Regions from separate parts of the Homo sapiens genome. Here region 1 is linked to region 2. Evidence: promoter capture Hi-C in 16 types of primary human blood cells and fetal thymus (Javierre and others, 2016). All regions are on one chromosome and are shown on one strand. Each heading gives the region's core, a stretch centred on a gene start or on the middle of the fragment in contact. The rest is flanking DNA. Distances are from core to core; before and after follow the strand shown. Region 1 has its middle 4.5 kb from the start of ADAMTS15. Region 2 holds the start of LINC02873 (long intergenic non-protein coding RNA 2873).

Region 1 (4,045 bases), core at 565-3,064, 230 kb after region 2:
CCCGGCAGTTTTAAAGGTGGATTGCAAGGTTTTCAACGGCACTTTACTTTCATTCTGACCCATGGGTTTTGGCAAGGGCTGCAGCATGTCAGTCAAGATGGCAGGGACCTGAGACAGGAAGTCCCTCCCACTTAGTGCTCCCCCTGCCCCAATCACAGCCCAGCTATTCTCACCCCTGAGCACAGAAACTGGCCATGTGGATTTGCTCAAAGGGATTAGCATGTATTGCAGGCTTAGTATGTGCTAAACATTGCACCAAGAGTTATATGTGCATTCTCGTATTTAATGCTTGACTGTCCCCTCTTGGAAGCCTGTGGTTCCATCCAATCACTTTTGCCAGGGAATTGAGGATCTAGGGATATGTTGAGCACTTGAGTAGAGGTGATACTCAGGATTGGCACTCCACTTCTATCACTGATCTGATTCTCTGACTCGTCTGTCAAAAGAGAAGGGGTTATCCTAGCTCAGAGGTCTTCAGCCAGAGAACTGCATCCAAAATCTGTGGTCTAGATAATACCTAAGATAACGACCAGGTCAAATATTACATGACTGATTGAGGCCTATGGAAGGGAACATAGTACAGTGATTTAGAGCCCATGGTCAGAGGGCCCTGTGTGCATGCCTCCACCAGATCTTAGCTGTGCAATCTTGGGTAAATTACTGTACCTCTCTAAGCCTCACTTTTCTCATTATTAAAATGGGGATACAAATTCTACCCACTGCCTGGACTAAATGAGTTAATATTATACTTCCAAAGTGTTTGGCAATGCTTGGTATATTTTAAAAGTTCCTTAAATATTATCGAATAGTACTGCTAATATTCTTATGTGCTATTATTATTACTCCTCCTAGTGCTATCAGTCTCTGCTAGGCCCTCCAAGCTGATTGCTGTCATCACCTTCTGAAGTTTTCTGGGGCGTGTCCTCTCCCAGTTCTGCTCGGGAGCTTTCACATTGGCTCCCACGTCCCACTTCCATAACGGGACTCCACAACCGCCATGGAGTTCTCGCTTCTCCTGCCCTCCATGATCTTAACATCCCTGGAAAATAAAAAGCAACTCCCTGTCAATGTATGAAAATGAAAATTTTTTAAAAAGCAGCTCTTCCCCCAGAGGACGACTGGGGGTCTAAGCCATCTGTCAGATCTAAGACCCCCAGCTTGGCCTTTCTGTCCTTCGCCAACTAGGCTGGCCTCTTCACAGCCTCCAGGTCTCAGCCCAAGTACAGCCCCCTCAGAGGGGCCTTCCCAGACCGCCCAATCTGAGAAGTCCCAAGTCACAATCATGATTGCATGTTTTGTCTTGTCCACTAGCATTTACCTCTATCTCTCTATCTAAACCTATTTTGCTCACTTAGATCTTTTTTTTTTTTCTTGACTGACTTCCCTCCGTTAAAATGAGAGCAGGACCTTCCCCATCTCGTTCACTGTTATATCTCCCAGAGCCTGACACAGTGCTGGGCTCACAGGGGCGCTCCAAAGATACTGAGCAAATGAATCAACCCAATTCTAATCCAGCTTGGTCCCTTACAGTCTGTAAAATATTGGACAAGATACTTCATCTCCACAATGAAAATGTGGCTCTCTCATAGAGCGAGTGCCTGACATACTTCTCTCATAATTATGTATTTCTACATCTCTCTGACAAAAACCTTAGCCTGGCACCCTAGTTACCTAGCCCAGTACCCTAGTCACCTAACCCAATACCCCAGTCACCTAGCCTAGTACCCTAGTCACCTAGCCCACTACCTTCATCCCATAGGTGTGGCAGCTGAGGTCCAGAGAAAGGAAGTTACTTGCCTAAGGCTACCCAGCCAGTTTCTCTACTCATCTCATGAAATCGTTTCTCTTTACTCTTCATCTGAAAGCCTGGCCCTAGCTAAATTCATTAGCTTGAGTGCTCCTGCTCAGAAAGTGTTCTTTCAGCATGCGTATTTATGTGAGCCTTTCCTCCCATACAGAATGGCCTCTCAGCCTCATCCATGCCTGCCTATATAACCCTCACTTCCTATAGGAAGCCCCTTGACTTAACTCACACAGCTCTGGTTGCTCTTTTTTGTTAGTTCCTCTGGCATATATGCATCCCATTTCCAGCATAGGCAGAGTCCATTTGAACTCGCTTGCCCTTTGCTAATTGTGTGTTCATCCCTTTTCCCGAGACTGGGCTGCAGCCACACTTGTCTGGAAACTCATCAAAAGGAGGGCTTCCTTTCCTATTATACTAGTCTCCATGACAGTCCCCAGAGGAGGTGTTAACTTCCTGGTCAAGCCAGCTGGATGCGGCAGGTTCCAGGTAGAAGATCAACTCAAAAAGGTAACTCACAGAGGCCAGAAGGAGGCAGCCACAAGGATTAGGTTTGGATTTCACTTCTTTTTTTTTTTTTTTTTTTTTTTTTTGAGACAGAGTCTTGCTCTGTCGCCCAGGCTAGAGTGCAGTGGCGCAATCTCAGCTCACTGCAACCTCCGCCCCCTGGGTTCAAGCGATTCTTCTGCCTCAGCCTCTCAAGTAGCTGGGATTACAGGTGCCCGCCACCATGCCCAGCTAATTTTTGTATTTTTAGTAAAGACGGGGTTTCACCATCTTGGCCAGGCTGGTCTCGAACTCCTAACCTTGTGATCCACTCGCCTTGGCCTCCCAAAGTGCTGGGATTACAGGCATGAGCCATCGCGCCCGGCAGATTTCTTCATCACGGGATGAAGTCATCACAGAAGTCATCACAGGATGACTTCTGCCTACCTGTGAAATTGGGCATCCTGGAGGATCTCTTCAAAACAGGAGAAAATAATTAAGGAGAAAAACGGGGTGGAGGGACAAGCACTATGATCTGGGCAAGATTTTAATGGGCAGGGAAATGACTTAGGAAAGTCTCCCAATTCCCCAGATTAGCTATTCTAAATCATTGGCCTACCATGTTAGGACTTAAATCGGTTTTTACACAGCAGCATGAAAACAGATGTACAAATTTATCATGTTTTGAGCTTAGGACTTGATCATTCTTTACCAAAGATCCCTAAAAATCCCAGATGCGTTTAATCTGCTCCTCTTGGAATCTGTGCCACAGAGGTGGGCAAAGCAGGCAAAGTATAGAAAGGCACAGGCTTCAGGAAGCCCCCGGGAAGGCCCAGCGAGTGTTAAATGACTGAGCTGCCATCATCCACTGGCTTCCACAACTGCTGGAGCTCTTGGCTGGTCTTCTCCCAGATGCAGAGACAGCTGAAGCAGCTGGAGATTCATCTAAGGCCCCATGAATTACAGCCCTGGCCTGAGTTCATTCTTCATTACTCAGAGGAAATATTTAACTCTGTTTTTTCCCTCTCAGCCACCCACTCTGTTTTTGACTCTGGGGCTAAGCGTTTAAGTAGAAGTCTCTCTGGTGCTAACTCCTGTATTTGTTCTCTTGGATGCTAGGAAATTAGAGCAAAGGGTCTTGATGTGGCTTGGACAAACTCAACAAACAATAGTTCCAGGCTGCCTCCTTTCACCCTGAATCCCCCTTAGACAGTCTTAAATAACAGCTACCCCCCTGAAATCTAGGGCTCCCTGATTCAATCATTTATTTTATAGATTTACACACACGCCCCAGGACAAATTACTTTGGAGCTCTTGGCTATTCTGCGTATAGCTGCACCTTTAGCTTTTAGGCTGGTTGAAGGAGAATGCCTAAAATAGAGATGAGATGGATGCTAAATCCTCAACTCCTATCTAGGGATTTAGAAAGCAATTAGTTTTTCCTGCCAAAAAGCTTCTATCTCCTCTACTCTTCCCAGTATGCCCCTTTTCCCACCGTCAACAAAGAGTAGCTTCAAGATTGAGCTTGACCTTGAGCCTCAGGCCTCCACCCCATCTCTAGCAAAGGACCACCTCCGGGCTCCTGCAACCCAGATGAGGTCCCAACACAAAATTGATTGCTCTCCCAGGTAGCATGGTTTCTTCCATTAGCTCATCCTCCCTCCTAATAAAAATACTTGACATATACAAAATACCATATGACTTGTAAATAAGTTGATATATATTATCATTCCATCCTTACAAAAATACTCAGGGAGG
Region 2 (3,924 bases), core at 472-2,971:
GCACTCCAGCCTGGGCAATAAAGCCATACTCTGTCTCAAAAATAATAACAATAATACATTAAGAAAAAGAATTGAACCTTGATGCTTACCACACACCATATCTAAACATTAACTTAAAATGGATCATAGGCCTACAACTAAGTGCTAAAACTACAAAAACCCTAGAAGAAAATCTTTGTGACTATGGGTCAGACAGAGTCTTCTTAGATATGACACAGAAAACATGACTTAGAAAAGAGAAAAGCGATAAATTGGACTTCATCAAAATGAAAGGCTTTTAGTCTTTGGAAAACATTGTTAAGAAAATAAGACAAGCTACACATTGGGAGAAAACATGTGTAACACATCCATCTCTGTCCATGTTTGCTCACATTTCAATGTTAACTCTTAGCTTTATAATAAAATGGAAAGGATACCTTTTAACGGGGCATCACACTAACTGAAATAAAATTGGGTTCTGTGACCAAGGCAGAGAAGAGGAACGCACACTGGGTAAGCAACCAAGAGTGTGCTACATGTACAATATAAAATTATAAAAGAAAATAGAATCTCAGCAGGTGGTAGGTAACCAAGCAGGTCCCACAAGTCTGATCCTGTCTGCTGCAAGGTAGTAAGGGCAGAACATCATCTCTGCCCTGGATTCCCATCTGTGCCTAACACAAAGGAGGCCAGGGGAGAGAGCTCATGTGCTGATCTGGAATGCACAGACTACAGAGAAAAGGGCAGAAGAGGAGAGACCACCACGGGTGGAGCTGTCCACAAGGTGTGTGGAGGACATGGTCCTGAACTTGGCCTTCAATGCAAGGGATGTCAGGAAGCCAGAGGAAGGAGAGCAGGCCTTGGACTAGAGCATGGAAACAGGTGTTGGGTGCTACCTTCAAGGACCAAGAAGGCAACATGCCCTACCACAGCAGGAGGGGCATGCTGAGAACAGGAGCTGAAATTTCTCTGAGCCAGGTCAAAGCAGAGGCCGAAAGTGCCAGCCAGGGAATTTGGAGCTTGATGACAAAGTGGACTGGCTCTCCTAGAACCATGGGGTGACTTGATGAAAGTTGATTCATTCAGATCTGCTGCTTCTCCTCCAAACAGGACCCTGGTGATGGACTTTCTCCACACCCACCTTCAGGGAAGATGCACTCATTCATTTCAGCAGAGGAACGTCCCTCTTGCTGCACCAGTCACAGGCATTGGTCATGGAGCACCAGGGCTCTCTACTGCGGAACCTCATGCAGCCTCGCAGGCTTTCTCAGCACAGCACCCAAAAAACATTACCAAGTAGTCAGAACAGGCATTTGGGACACACCCAGCATGGTGGGGGCTGACAAACCCTACCCTTGTTCCCCCAACCCCACCCCCGCCTCCAGGGCCTCCCACTGAACATCTACCCCACCTCCATCGCCACCATCATTTCTCTTCTGCTGTGTGTGTTCTTCAGGCAGCAGCTGTTTTTCCTGTCACTGCATAATATTCATTTAAGCCTGATTTCACCTGGGAAAAATGCTGGAAATAAGCCAGACTCCAGAGTGATGTGGTCATGACCAGATCCCTCCAAGATGACCTGGAAAGCTGAGTCCACCTGAGCTCACAGGACGGCTGGAGCTGGGCCAGAATGGAGAGGCCGCTGGTGGGCCATGCCCCAGTGACCCCAGCCCGAGGGGTGGCAGCCAAGCTGGCGAGGAAGAGACAGAGGAGGACCATGTCAGAAACTCACAAGGACAAGTGAGGGGTCCTGGTGAAAGCATAATGAGTTTAATAACCAGGGACAGCCCTGATCATCCACCATCCAATGGTGTCCCCACCTGATGACTGGCAACCCATTCTATGGGTGGGTTTAAGGGTGGGAGGCTCTTTCATCCTGGAGCCTCTTCAGGTCTCCCAGAGCTGCAGTCGCCTCAGCAAGCAAAGCAGAAGAAAAGAGGCCACTGTGTTTATGGCTGGGGTAGCCGCTCTCATGTGAAAATCAGGGGGTGAAACAAGGTGCTTTTGAAACCTGTTCAAGGCCTCCTTCCCTCCCAGCAAATCATCAGAGGAGAGATTTTGCCTCACGCTTTTCTCTCATGCATGTGTCTGTCCCAGAGTCGCCATGGCAACACTGTGTATGTTTGCACGGCTGGAAGGATCCAGAGATGGAAAACGAGGCCAGGGTGGACCAGAGCAGGGAGTCCAGCAGGAATTCCTCTCTGATCCTCTGCAGGCGATCAGTTAACAGAAAGCTCCCTTGCCCTTCTGAGGTTAGTCATAGAGCCTGCTTCTGCCAACAGCTCACAGGAAAAAATCACAATCCTCAGCAGTGAGTCCTGGGAATGTGCATCAAAGCCTGTTTTCCCCCCAGCAGTTTTATCAGGTAGGGATTTGCCATGACAATTCCCCAGGCCCTGAAGCCCAAGGTGCCAGCACACACATGGCAAGGCAGCCAGTGCCCGGTCACAGGGTGGGTCCGGGAACCACCCCTCACTCGGTGGGAGACAGCAGGTATGTCAGGAAGTGCTCTGCCACGTCTCACCTGTTTCCCTCACGCCTGACACTTCTCTATGCCGCGTGGACTTGGAGAACCAAGCTCTGAAAATCTGTATGAGACCCTTTTTCTAGATGAGACATGCACCTCATGCTGATTCTCCCTCAGAAGACAGCCCCAGTGGGTGTTCTCTGTAATTCCTCAACAGACACAGCCAGCCTTTTAACCACTTCTTTGTCTCTGAATCACCTCCCAACCTTTTCTCAAATTGTGGGAGCCATAAACTGGATGACAGGGAGGATTCAGCCCAGCATGGAGCTCAAGGTGGGGCCAAGAACCGTATAAATGAAACTGATTTTTTGGCAAATCACGTGAACATATGCATATTGACCAGTATTTAAGCCAGTGTCTGACACATATTAGGTGCCCAAAAATATTTATTAAACAAATAAGTAAAGTTCCCATAGATAGCAGAGACATGGAAAGTGGTTCCCACCTAGAAGTTTGGTGAGTTTACTTTCATGGGGTACAGAAAGACTGTTAAATAGGAAGGGATGCTAGTCTAATTGCACTTCAAACCCATCCCTCCTCACTCCACAGCTCTGCCCCTTATATAAACCAATTCTCACAAAAACGTCAGGAGCAGGGAGTTCAATATTTACTTGGCCATGATGCACTTGGTAGATCTCAGTTGGCTGGTAGAGTGTATTTTTCCCACTCTGAGGGCCAAAGATTTTGGCAGATGGCAAATGGAGGTGAAGGGGAGACAGAGTAAGTTATATAAAATACCACTAACTCTCTTCTCCTGTAGGCAGTAAAAACAGCTTCCTAGATTATTAGCACTGAGCCAAAATAAAAATCCACTGAAATATATTTTACAGGATGGAGATACTGTTCTAAAAAGGACGTGAGCACTTTCCTGAATTTATATGCTGCTTTGTTGCTGATCAGTTCTGCAGCAATCCCAGAACTAAGGTCCTTCAGTCATTCAATGAACATCTGTCATCTACAGCGGTCATTCTCAACCAGGGCTATCTTGTTCCTTAAGGGGACATTGATAATATCTGAAGACATTTTTGAGTGTTGCAACTGGGGGAAGGGTGCTAGTGGCATCTTGGGGAGACCAGCTTCTAAACAACTTACAAGGCGCAGAACAGACCCAACCAAAAAGCATCATCTGCCCCAAAATGTTGGGAAAACCTAGAGAGTGACAGAAACACACAGTAGCACAAAGCGAGGCATCTGAGTCCCGGAGCCTCAGAGAAGGCTTATCAGATGGAGTGATGAGTGCACTGAGACATGAAGAAGAATGAGCAGGAAACATAATTAGGAAAGAGGTTCTCGAGCAGAAGGACCTACATAAGCCAAACATGGAGATGAACATTTAAAGAACTGCAAATAGAGCAGACATTCTCTCAACTACCCTTCCCTTATATTAACTCATTTTCAAAAAAGGCCGGTACAGTGGC

The links. The method cuts DNA at HindIII sites, captures the fragments that hold promoters and counts their contacts. A CHiCAGO score of 5 or more calls a contact.
Region 1: a fragment that was not itself captured here is called in contact with the fragment with the promoter of LINC02873 in region 2 in 2 of 17 cell types (M0 macrophages and M1 macrophages); the score reaches 6.4 in M0 macrophages.

What each region holds. Positions count from the first base shown.
Region 1 is chr11:130,442,114-130,446,158 of GRCh38, reverse strand. No RefSeq gene overlaps it. Among named protein-coding and RNA genes, the nearest start is that of ADAMTS15, 4.5 kb to the left of the region's middle. The HindIII fragment of the contact is 3,856 bases long and covers 1-3,742 here.
Region 2 is chr11:130,670,753-130,674,676 of GRCh38, reverse strand. LINC02873 (long intergenic non-protein coding RNA 2873) reads right to left here and starts at 1,721. Exons shown (of 3, transcript NR_164144.1): 1 at 1,489-1,721. The HindIII fragment of the contact is 8,610 bases long and covers 1-3,924 here.